3 separate regions of the Homo sapiens genome follow, and regions 2 and 3 are each linked to region 1. Evidence: promoter capture Hi-C in 16 types of primary human blood cells and fetal thymus (Javierre and others, 2016). All regions are on one chromosome and are shown on one strand. The core of a region is centred on a gene start or on the middle of the fragment in contact, and the rest is flanking DNA. Distances in the headings are between cores, read along the strand shown. Region 1 holds the start of CD79A (CD79a molecule). Region 2 overlaps GRIK5 (glutamate ionotropic receptor kainate type subunit 5). Region 3 overlaps POU2F2 (POU class 2 homeobox 2).

What was found. The method cuts DNA at HindIII sites, captures the fragments that hold promoters and counts their contacts. A CHiCAGO score of 5 or more calls a contact.
Region 2: a contact is called between a fragment that was not itself captured here and the fragment with the promoter of CD79A in region 1, in 8 of 17 cell types (fetal thymus, total B cells, naive CD4 T cells and 5 more). The highest score is 8.1, in fetal thymus.
Region 3: a fragment that was not itself captured here is called in contact with the fragment with the promoter of CD79A in region 1 in 1 of 17 cell types (non-activated CD4 T cells); the score reaches 5.5 in non-activated CD4 T cells.

What each region holds. Positions count from the first base shown.
Region 1 is chr19:41,875,753-41,879,753 of GRCh38, reverse strand. It overlaps CD79A (CD79a molecule), which reads right to left and starts at 2,475. Exons shown (of 5, transcript NM_001783.4): 1 at 2,371-2,475; 2 at 465-764; 3 at 101-219. The coding sequence starts at 2,449. RefSeq lists a silencer at 2,274-2,333 and an enhancer at 3,741-3,810. The HindIII fragment of the contact is 1,040 bases long and covers 2,000-3,039 here.
Region 2 is chr19:42,036,905-42,040,874 of GRCh38, reverse strand. All of the region lies in intron 12 of GRIK5 (glutamate ionotropic receptor kainate type subunit 5), which reads left to right. Among named protein-coding and RNA genes, the nearest start is that of GRIK5, 31 kb to the left of the region's middle. The HindIII fragment of the contact is 2,122 bases long and covers 692-2,813 here.
Region 3 is chr19:42,118,481-42,122,463 of GRCh38, reverse strand. It overlaps POU2F2 (POU class 2 homeobox 2), which reads left to right. Exons shown (of 15, transcript NM_001394376.1): 3 at 86-120; 4 at 282-338. Among named protein-coding and RNA genes, the nearest start is that of POU2F2, 12 kb to the left of the region's middle. RefSeq lists a silencer at 385-464. The HindIII fragment of the contact is 8,206 bases long and covers 1-3,983 here.

The sequences.
Region 1 (4,001 bases), core at 1,226-3,725:
TTTGGATGGGGAACCTCAGGCTCTAGAGGGCTACCTGGGTATTGGGGGTCCCTCGGCCCAGGCCCTCGCCCGGCTGACTCAGAGGTCCGAGGGGGCTCACCCTGAACAGCAGCAGCGTCCCAGGCACCACCGCGCAGAACAGGAGGATGATCCCCTCGGCTGTGATGATTCGGTTCTTGGTGCCCTCCCCCATGTCCAGGAAGGGCCTGGGGGGCGGCTCTGCAAGGAGGTAGTATGGCTCAGAGCCCTGGCCCCTCTTGCCCTCCCTAGCCTCCTGGCCCCGCCCACCTCCTGCAAGGCCCCAGACCCCCCAGAGACCCCACTCTGCAGAGGAGAATGTCCGTCCCTCTGTCCAAGCCGGTTTGAAACCCACATTGAAGGTACTGGCTCTATCCCCACTTCAAAGATAAACCGAGTGTCCCCAGCGGGACAGTGGGAGTAGGGGCCAGGGCTGGGCCACTCACGGCGCACGCGGAGGTAGGTGCCGCAGGACTGCTGGTATGACTCGTTGCCCTCCTGGACCCGGCACACGTATATGCCCCCATGGCTCTTGTTCACATTCTGGATGATCAGCGTACCATTGGGGTCCTCGCCCGGGCCCAAGAACTCAGGGGGCCACGTGTAGTTGCCATGGAGGACGCGCCACCAGGTGACGTTGGCGTTGTTGCTGCTATTGTGCGGGCATTGGAAGTGGGCGTCTTCCCCCAGGCTCACCATCAATGATGCTGGGACCTTGTGCATCCACAGGGCCTGGCACCCAGGGCCTGTGGAGAGACAGGGTGGGTGGGTCAGGGACTGGGGATGGTGACACATTTCCCCAGCCCTGGCCCCTGCAGTTCCAGCACTCCTGGGAAGAGGGTGAGGACTCTCCTGGGTGGGGAGGGAGAGAGAGAGCCCCTGACAGGGGCTGATACATCCTGGGGAGAGGGGGGATGCGGGAAAGTGAAGAAGCCCCTGGGAAGGAGAGAGGACATACCTGGTTGGGGTGGGTGAGGATATCCTGGGAGAGGAGAATGAGACTCCCTGGGATGGTAAGACCCCTGGGAGGCCCTTCTCACCTCTGCAGCGCCATCTCTTGCCCCCCTCCCGCATACCCACTTTGTACTCTGGCCCTGTGAACTCTCTGGATTTTGGATGTTTGTTCCAGGCACTGGAGGACCGCTGTCCAGACAGCTCCTTCCAGAAGCAGTGCAGGCGTCCCCTCCTCCCGCAGCCTTCCCGGTCCATTTTTGCACCCCAGCCTCAGCCAGGCCCAGCACCTGGCGCTTTTTCTTGTGTAATCATTCACAGAACCCTAGAAGTAGGTTCTCTCCTTAGCCCCATTTTACAGGAGGGATGGCTGAGGCTCTGGGAGGGCAGGCGGGTTGCCAGCATCACCAGGCAGTCAGGAGTGGCACTGGGTTCAAACTCTTGGCTCCCTGGCCTCTCCCTGCCTGGGCTGAGGAGCCAGTCTGTGGCCTGCCCTGGCCTGTGACCCTGTGCCTGGCCCTCATTCTCTGTAAGTTGTATGTGTCAACCTAGGGGTCAGGGGTGAGTTCAGTCCTTGGGCTGGGCTGCTGGTGATTGAAGGGGCTCAGAGCGGGGTGGAGACTGGGGGTGTCTCTGAGTGAGACGAGGCGGCTCAGGCTGGCTGCAGTGTCCAATCCGGGCTCCTCTGGGAAGCCCCAGCTCTCAGCCAGGCCTCCCACATGGCCAGTCCCCTCTTCTGGAGGTAGGTGGAGGAGGGAGGTGAGGAAGAGAGAAGGAGGAAGAGATGGGGAGAGGGGCCGAGCACCCTCATCGTCACGGGCTTAAGACTCAGACGTGAACTCCAATCCTTGCTCCCAGTGTCCCCTTGGGTGGGGAACCTTTTTCTCTGAACTCCTGGGTTAGCGTGGCCACAGCCCCTGCCAGCTGTCCTTGAGCAGGTGAGGGGGAGTCCATGAGACACCCATTCCCCCAGTGCTGAGAAGGGACTCCCAACAGAGAGAGGCACCTGAGGTTTAAGGCAGAGAAAGCTTTTTCTCCCCTTGACAGACGCTGAATGCTGCTACCCCTAAGTCCCCTTCCTGCCCCCAGCCCTGGTGCTCAGTCAAGAGCAACTTTAGTTCCTTATTTTGGCCTGTGGGGAACAGGAGGTGGGGGAGGTGACTCTTGCTCCTGCCTCCCTGTGTGAGACTGTGGACGCCCCTTCTCCTTCGCTGGGCTCCCTCCAGCCCCACCTTGGCCCATCTTGGCACAGATACGATTTCTATAGGCATCTTCCCTGGGTCCCCTATCCTCTGCCTCCTCTTCCCCTTTCCCTGAGCCCCCTTCCCTCTGCCTGTGCCCTCTCTGCAGCCTCCACAGCTTCCCCCACCTCCCGCCAGTTCCTGCCCTTTGGCCACATACCCAGGTAGACAGCAGACAGCAGGAAGAGGAGGAAGATGGTGGCAGGCAGAGCTTGGAGGACTCCTGGACCCCCAGGCATCTTCTCCCAGTGGGTTGGTTAGTTTGAGTTGCAGCAGTCCCAGGGTACCAGATCCCTACCCCAAACCCCACCCTACTTCCTGCCCAGCCCCCCGGAGATGGGCTCCAGTGGCCCTCGCTACTGGGCCCTTTGCTTGTTGGGCCTGGGGACAGCCCCTGCCGGGTATGCTTCAGGCTGTGAGTGGAGAGAAACTGCTCCCTGCACCTGTGGTGGCCACAATTCCCCTGAGAGGTGGCTGCTTGGGTGGGGGAAGAGGCTGGTTCAAGGGCTGGCTCGTCACTGCTGAGCCTTTGGAAGGAAGCCTAGGGAACCTGAGTCCTGGGCATGTGTCATGGGCAGGTGATGGTTCTGAGCTTGACCTCTCCCCCTGCCTGGACTTGGGCAAACCTTGTCCCTTCCCTGACCCCATTTCCTTGCTTCTTGGGATTAGAAACAAGGACTTAAAGGGGTTGTCACATGCACAGAAATGGCCCACAGTAGGCGCCCAGTAAATGTTAGTCACTATAAATACTCATGAAGAATAAATAAGGCAGGCTGACCTGTGGCTGACTACCCGTGTGACTAGGTGGGCACTTTGATCCTTCGAAGCTTGACATTTTTCATCTGTGAGATGAGGACCAGAATGTCTCCCTGTCTCATTATGTGATACGAGATGGTGTTCCTGGTATTCAAGGAGTGAGAACCATGATCAGCTCTTTACTGGAATTCTTTTTTTAAAAAAACAGGCCAGCTATGGTGGCTTATGCCTGTAATCCCAGCCCTTTGGGAGGCTGAGACAGGAGAATCACCTGAGGTCGAGTTTGAGACCAGCCTGGCCAACATGGCGAAACCCCATCTCTACTAAAAATACAAAATTAGCCAGATGTTGTGGCACATGCCTATTATTCCAGCTACTCAGGAGGCTGAGGCAGGAGAATCAGTTGAACCCAGGAGGTGGAGGTTGCAGTGAGCTGAGATCACACCATTGCACTCCAGCCTGGGTGACAAAAGCGAAACTCTGTCTCTAATAATAACAATAATAACAACAACAACATATATTTTTCTTCTTTTTTTTTTTTAAGAGGGATGGGATCTTGCTATATTGCCCAGGCTGGTCTTGAACTCCTGGCCTCAAGCAATCCTCCTGCCTCAGCTTCCCAAAGTGCTGGGATTACAGGCATGTGCCACTGTGCACAGCCAGAAGTTGTTTTATATTGACCTGCCATGACTGGCAAGGTAGGCCATCCCCCATTTTACAGAGGGGGAAACCGAGGCCAGAGAGGGGAGGTTGTCACTTGCGGGTGTCATACAGTCTAGGGGTGGTGGACAGAGATTCAAAGTCATCTTTGTGTTGCTCCCAGTTTCCTTTGAGCATGTCTGGTAGGAGGGAAATGAGGTCTGAGTGGGGAGGGCGGAGTTGCTGAGATATTTGTGAGCAGTTAGGGGACCCTCACACACATACAAGGGGATATATAAAATAAATTTATTGCAGGGAGATTTTTGGTAGCAAACATTGAGAAGCAAATGAAAAGTCCATTTGTGGGAGAATGGGTGCATACACTGTGGCAAAGTG
Region 2 (3,970 bases), core at 503-3,002, 160 kb before region 1:
TTTTGGAGACAGAGTCTCCTCTGTTGCCCAGGCTGGAGTGCAATGGCACGATCTCTGCTCACAGCAACCTCTGCCTCCCTGCAACCTCCACCTCCCGGGTTCAAGCGATTCTCCTGCCTCGGCCTTCCGAGTAGCTGGGATTACAGGTGCGCCACCGTGCCTGGCTGATTTTTGTATTTTTTGGAGCAACAGGTTTCATCATGTTGGCCAGGCTGGTCTTGAACTCCTGGCCTCAAGTGATCCGCCCACCTCACCTCCCAAAGTGCTAGGATTACAAGTATGAGACACCACACCCAGCCCAGGGTGAATTTTAAAGCCTGAAGCCCAAAGAGGCCCCGGGTGAGACAGGAGATGAGAAGCCCCAGAGCTGACAGCTCTATGCCCACCTGAGGGCACAGGCTTCCTCGTGACCTGTTTCCACAGCCTGGTCTTTAGTCACGTAGGCTCAGAAATATTCTTTCATCTGGTATCCCAGAAATAAGCAGGCTCCAAGGGAGTAGCCCTGCACCTGAAGTCACTCTAAACTGGATGCCCTTTTTTCACCAACAGAGAAGTCTGGAACAGTTCTTATTTACAGCTGTCTGACCTTTGTGTCTCAGGGCCTACTCAGTAGGGTAGGGTGAGAGGATTTGGGGCCTGGGGCCAGCAAAGTGTGGCAGCTGAGAGTGTCTGTGGTTGGCTGTTTAAAGCTTAGCTCTGCTGTGCACTGGTTGTGTGGCTTTGGGCAAGTGCTTAACATTTCTTTAGGTTGTAGTTTGTTCAACTGTAAAATTGGGGAATAACAGCCCTTTAGCACATAGGGTTGTTTTGAAGAACAACATGCAGTGAAGAACTTAGAACAGGGCCTGGTGCATAGTGGGTGCTGTATGCGTGTGTCCTTTTTTTTTTTTCCTTTGAGACTGGGTCTCTCTCTGTTGCCCAGGCTGGAGCGCAGTAGTGCAATCACAGCTCACTGCAGCCTCCACCTCCTGGGCTCAAGCGATCCTCCCACCTCAGCCTCCCGAGTTGCTGGGACTATAGGCATATGCCATAATGCCTAGGTAATTTTTGTGTTTTTTGTAGAGATGGGGTCTGGCCCTGTTGCCTAGGCTGGTCTTGAACTCCTGGGCTTAAGCAATCCTCCCACCTCAGCCTTCCAAAGTGCTGGGATTATACTATTTTTATTATTGTTATTATTCATACCAGCATGGCCAGCACATACATAGATTTGTGTGTTCATCCATTTTCCATTCAGCCAATGTTTGTTGAGTGCCTACTGTATACCAAGCCCTGTGCTATACCCTGGGGATACCATGGTGAACAAGCCCGATGTGCTCTTACTGAGTGGGCTAAAGGGTTTGGGCCTCAGCAGAAAGCCCATGGGATGCCCTTGAAGAGTTTTGTTTTTGTTTTTGTTTTGAGACGGACTCTGGCTCTGCTGCCCAGGCAGGCTGGAGTGCCATGGGGTGATCTTGGCTCACTGCAACCTCTGCCTCGTGGGTTCAAATGATTCTCCTGCCTCAGCCTCCTGAGTAGCTGGGACTACAGGCGCATGCCACCACACCTGGCTAATTTTTGTATTTTTAGTAGAGATGGGTTTCGCCATGTTGGCCAGGCTGGTCTCAAACTCCTGAACTCAGGTGATCCACCTGCCTCAGCCTCCCAGAGTGCTGGGATTACAGGCATGAGCCACCATGCCCGGCCACCCTTGAAGGGTTTTGATCTGGCTCAAGTGAATTGGCCCTGGGGTTGGGGGAAGCAGTGGTAACAGGAAGACCAGTGAGGAGATAAGGAATGAGCTGGTGGGCCTCAGGCGGGAGAACGTCAGAGCTAGAGACTAGGGGAAGGGCTAAAGAGCACCAGGGCTTGGTGACTGCCTAGGGTGGGGGATGCAGGAGAGGACAGGAGGGAGAGCATTCCTCCTGTGTCTGGCTTGGGCATCTGGGTGATGGCAATGACATTTACAGGGAGAACACTGGAGGAGGAGCTGGAGCGTGAAGGATAGGCGGAGTTTGGCCTTGCCCTGCTGTGGGATAGCCGAGTGTGCCGAGCTGCACAGGAATAGTCACCACCGTCATCACAACAGCAGCAGCTGTCATTTGTTGATTTCACACCATGTGCGAGGAACTTTTCAAGTGTTACTTAACATAATTTTCATAGCAGTCCTTCATGGCCTGAGGATCACTGCCCAGTGTGAGATCTGGAGTCCCCAGTGCACAGGGCTGCAGCCAGGTGTGTCTGACTTAAGGCCCGTGCCCTTTCCAGCCCTCCAGCTGGGAACTTGGGAAGCTCGGAGTACACTGATGGAGTGGCACGCTGTGCCAGGCCCTTGTCTGAGCTTTCTGACTTGTCTCCATCCTTGACTCCTCATGGCCACCCAGTGAGAGAGGGACTGGTATTAGCCCCGTTTTCTCAAATGTACAGTGAGGCATCAAGGTTTCATGTCCAGGCCCATGGCTAGTGACCAGGAGAGCCAAGGTGGGCACCCCATCAGGGTGGCCCAGAGCTGGTGAGTGACTTCCAGATGGAAGACAGCCTGGGGCACCACCATCCTGCCAGTCACCCCTGGGCCAGGCACAGGTCTCCTTGGCCTGTCTTGAATTATGACCCATTTTTTCCACCCAGTGGCCATGGCTGACATTGGCCTTCTCCCTGCCATCACTGCCATGGTGTGAATTCAGGTCCCACCCCTCTCATCAGCCTCCTTACTGGCCTCCTGGCTTCTAGTCTCTCCACTCCCCAGCTTGTCCTCCAATAGAACCTTTCTACAGTGTGAGTCTGATCTGTCACTTGTATGCTTTAACTGAAGCCCCTGAGGCCCTCAGGATAAAGCTTAGCCTTCAAGGGCAAAGAAGATCTTAGGTCAGGGTCCCAGGAAGCTGACTCTGAGATGGAGATGTAGAGGCAGGAGGTGTGATGGCGTGCCCCTGGAAACCTGCCCTGTGCAGGAGGGAAGGAAGCAGGCTTGGGCAGAGGAGTTGAGCTGCGCTGCAGTCACAACTGGGCCTTAGCTGTCCCACAGGCAGCTCTGGAGCTGAGCTGGCCGTCAAGGACCTCCCCCTGTGGTAAGGGTGCCAGGCCTTTAAGCACCCACTGATATGTCACTGGACGTGGGCTGCTCTTGGGGAGAGTCAGGACTTTGGGTGAGGGGACGCTCTTCTACTGACAGAGCTGAGAGCCATCAGCCACCTACACCCTGGGCAGCTGAGGCAATGAGTGCCCCACTCCTGAAACAGAGTCTGGGTAGCCACCATGGAGTCCACTATAGCAGTGCACTGGTTAGGAGCCAGAAGGAGCCAGCTTCAGGTCCCCAGTGCTCCCACATGATCCCTGCAAAGCCACTTATCTCTGAAGGTCAGTCACTCCTCTTGAAAAGGGGCTAATGTTACCTCCCTCACAGAGGGTTTTTTTGTTTGTTTGTTTTTGTTTTTCTTTTTGAGGCAGAGTCTCACTCTGTCGCCCAGGCTGGAGTGCAGTGGCGTGATCTCGGCTCACTGCAACCTCTGCCTCCAGGGTTCAAGCGATTTTCCTGCCTCAGCCTCCTAAGTAGCTGGGATTATAGGAATGCACCACAATGCCCGGCTATTTTTGTATTTTTAGTGGAGACGGGGTTTCGCCATGTTGGCCAGGCTGGTCTCGAACTCCTGACCTCAAGTGAGCTGTCCGCCTTGGCCTCCCAAAGTGCTAGGATTACAGGCATGAGCCACTGCACCCAGCCAGTGAGTTTTAAGGCAATTAAATGAGAGCGCATTTGCACAGAGCCTGGCACATGCCTGGCTCACATGTGGTCACTACTGCTAGATACCTTTCTTGAGGCGGTCTGTATGTGAGTGTAGTTAGAAGAATGGGTTTTGGAGTCGGCTAACCCTGGGTTCAAATCTGGACTTACTCCTTACTGGCTTTGTGACCTGCAGGCAGGTGGCTGCCCCCTCTGAGCCTTAGTGTCTCCTCAAATGGGGAGTGGTGACCCCCTAACTTGGAGGGGTATCAC
Region 3 (3,983 bases), core at 547-3,046, 240 kb before region 1:
AGTGGGACAGATGGGAAGAGAGCTGGGAGGGGACAGGTGTGGTGGGGGTGGCTGATGACAACACATCCTTTCCCTCTCTTTGCAGACACCGAAAGAAATGGACCAGACACTAATCATCAGGTTAGGAGGGAGTGGATAAGCGGGAGGGGGTGGGAAGGAATGGGGAGAGGGGTTCAGAGGGGGCTCTGTGCCGCCTATGGTAGGAGGGCAGGGAGCGGGGGTGGTCAGAAGCTGCTTCACTGCACTATTCCCATCCCCTTGCTCCTACTTTCTCTTTGCAGAACCCCCAAAATAAGACCTCCCCATTCTCCGTGTCCCCAACTGGCCCCAGTACAAAGGTAAGCACCTGTCAGAACAGCCAGGGAAGTGGGCAGCGCTTGGAAGAGGGTCCTCAGGAGGCCTGCCTCAGTCCAAGGGCTGAGAGAGCACTGAGCCTTGGTACCTTGGTAACGAGGTTCCTCCCGCCCCTTCTCACTCTTGGGCTCCCACCCCAGGCCTGTGACTCACGCAGGCTCCTTCCCCTTCCCTAGGGGGTGGGGGTGGCTAGGGAAATCCCCCCCAGAGCCCCAGGGCGATGAACAACAGGAAGCCAAAGGCCCGCCCCCATCCCAACTTCCCTGACCCAACAGAGGCCTGCACCACCGCCTGTCCCCCAATATACACATTTAGCGGCCAGCTGAGGTGGGGGTGGGGGGGCTGGTACCAGTTGAGGATAGCTGTAGGAATGCAGGAGAGAATGACAGGGAGGCCGGAAGCAGCCAGGCAGTGCAAATTCCACATCCAGATGGGGCCCTGTGCCTGGCATTCTGGGCTTCTTGGGGTTGCCTGGGCTCCAGTCTCCACCCTCCAGCCTGGTCCAGGGGTAGCAGGCAGGTCCAGAGGCTTGAAGGTAGCACTGGAGGTGGGGGCAGAGAAGGTGTGAGCAGGACTCCAGACCCTGACCAGTGGTGGCTGAGGGATGGGGTGGGAGGCTGGGAACTGCTCCCCACCCTGCTACAGCTTTGCTCTGTGACCATGGGAAAGTCACTTCCCCTCTCTGGGCCTCTCAGTTTCCTCTTCAGTATCATTGGTCAGGGGGGAGGGGGCAGTCGGATGGGATGGCCTCTGTGGTTGCCTCCATGTCTGGTGTACCCCCATGCTACCATGAGAGGAGAGGATAAAAGTGCTTTGTGAGCAGATGTCCTGCTTCTGTGCTGAGCGCTTTGAACGGGGTCTAGGGGAGACAGGCTCTCGATCTTGACCTCCTTGACCCTCTGATGGCAGGTTTGGCTATTGCCTTAGCCCTCAGAGCACAGCGTGTATCCATTGCCCCCACCCTGTCCTCAGTTGAATCAGATCTTTGCAGTCTGTTCTCAAACTGGCAGCAGGCTTCCTTCTTTTGGGGATGCCAGTGGGACCAAGGGAATGAAGGTTTCTCCCTCCCCTTCCTGGCCTCGGGCTCTGTCCACAACTCGCCCTGTACGCCCTGTTTCTCTGGGCTTTGCCTCTCAACTTCTCTCCATCTCTTCTGTGTCAGTCTTTCCCTAACTGAAGTGATTCATGTGCTTCTGTCACAGTCTCAGGCATAAGACCACTGTGCGCAACTATTTACATAATAATTTTGTTAATTGGCTCAATTTTTTAAAAAAGCACCTTATTATGGAAAATGTGAAGTGGATACAGAAATAGAGAGAAGGTTATAATGAAAATAAAGCCCCTAGATACCCATCAATCAGCTTCAACAATTACCAACTCATGAACTGGCTTGCTTTTCGACAGCTTTTTAAATAAATGTTTTTTAAATGGAAATTTCACAAATGGAAAACCAGAATCACTTGCCATGGAAATAAATATGATGATTATTAAAATTTACCCAGAGTCTCTTGTGTGCCGAAGGGTCTAAACCTCAGAGGCCTGTTAAAAAAGAGGCTTATTAAAAAGAGGCTTATTAAAAAAGGAGATTAGGGCTGGGCGCGGTGGCTCATGCCTGTATTCCCAACAGTTTGGGAGACAAAGCGGGCAGATCACCTGAGGTCAGGAGCTTGAGACCAGCCTGGCCAACACGGTGAAACTTCGACTCTACTAAAAATACAAAAATTAGCCGGGCATGGTGGTGAGTGCCTGTAATCCCAGCTACTTGGGAGGCTGAGGCATTGTGGAGAATTGCTTGTGCCCAGGAGGTAGAGGTTGCAGTGAGCCGAGATTGCACCACTGCACTCCAGCCTGGGCAACAGAGAAAGACTCCAGCTCAAAAAAAAAAAAAAAAGGAGATTAGGCCAGATGCAGTGGCTCAAGCCTGTAGTTCTAACACTTTGGGAGGCCAAGGTGGGTAGATCGCTTGAGCCCGGGAGTTCAAGACCAGCCTGGGCAACATAGTGAGACCCTGTCTCTACAGAAAATACAAAAATTAGCTGGGTGTGCATGCCTGTAGTCTCAGCTACTTGAGACAGAGGCAGGAGGATCGCTTGAGTCTGGGAAGTTGAGGCTGCAGTGAGTCCTGATGGTGCCACTGCACTCCAGCTTGGGTGACAGAGCAAGACCCTGTCTCAAAAAAAAAATTAAAATAAAAGTGGAGATTAGCTAGTATTGGAGAGATGGTAAAGACATTCAAGCACCAATCAGAGACTTTAAGATAACCAGAAACAATGAAAAAAGCACTGAAAAGGGAATAGTGTGCTCACCATGGCATTCAACATTATTTTTTTAAAACTTTTTTTTTTTGAGACGGAGTCTCGCACTGTCACCCGGGCTGGAGTGCAATGGCATGATCTCGGCTCATTGCAACCTCCACCTCCTGGGTTCAAGCGATTTTTGAGGCGGAGTCTCGCTCTGTCGCCCAGGCTGGAGTGCGATGGCACCATCTTGGCTCACTGCACCTCCACCTCCCGGCTTCAGGTGATTCTCTTGCCTTAGCCTCCCAATTAGCTGGGATTACAGGTGTGTGCCACCATGCCTGGCTAATTTTTGTATTTTTAGTAGAGATGGGGTTTCACCATGTTGGCCAGGCTGGTCTCGAACTCCAGACCTCAAGTGATCCTCCCACCTTGGCTCCCAAAGTGCTGGGATTAAGGGGCGAGCCACCGCGCTCAGCCTATTTTTAAAAAAACTTTGTATTAAAATATGATACACATTAAAAACACACATAGATCTTCAATGTATGACTCTGTGAACTTTCAGAAACTTAGCACACCCATGTCACTAGCACCAGATCAAGAAGCAGAGCACGACCAGCCTTCCAGAGGCCCTTAATGCCCCTGCCAGGGATAGCTGCTACCCTGACTTCTCATACTCAGTGTCATTTCATGCTGCATCTCTGCAGCACTTTTTTTTTTTTAACCTCTCTCTCTCTCTTTTTTTTTTAAGAGACGGTGTCTTGCTCTGTTGCCCAGGCTAGTCTCAAACTCCTGGCCTCAAGCAATCCTCCTGCCTCAGCCTCCCAAAATGCTGCGATTACAGGCATGAACCACCACACTTGGCCTCTGTAGCTCTTAAACTTTCTAATACTTATATTCCATAATTTGGGACATGCCATTCACTGTCTATTATTTGGCCTTTCCTTGGCCTCTGTTTGTCTCTGTCCACATTCCAAATATCACCCCCCTGCCAACACACTGTGTCATTTTGCCCAAGTTGCTTTCTGTCTCTGGACTTCCTTTTACAAAATGGTGTTGGGCTATCAGGCTGAAGGATAAACTCACTGTCCACTTTAGGCCTGAGGGTGTGTGATCCATCAGGCCATGCCTTCTCCCACCACTGTGTGTGCTTCAGCCAACAGGCCTTTCAGCCAACAACTGCTGTTGTCTGGCTTTTTACCTAGGAATGGAGGAGGCCAGGGTGGCTCTATGCTGGTCTGTTCTGTGTGTATGGTGCAAGGTGTGTCCATATCATATTCAGAAAGACATGGAGAGGCTTGGCAGACCTCAGGAGCGGAGGCTGAAGCCTGGTATTTCCTGGGCCACATCTGGCTTGTCCACAGTGCAGGACAAATGCTGTGCTTTGCTTAT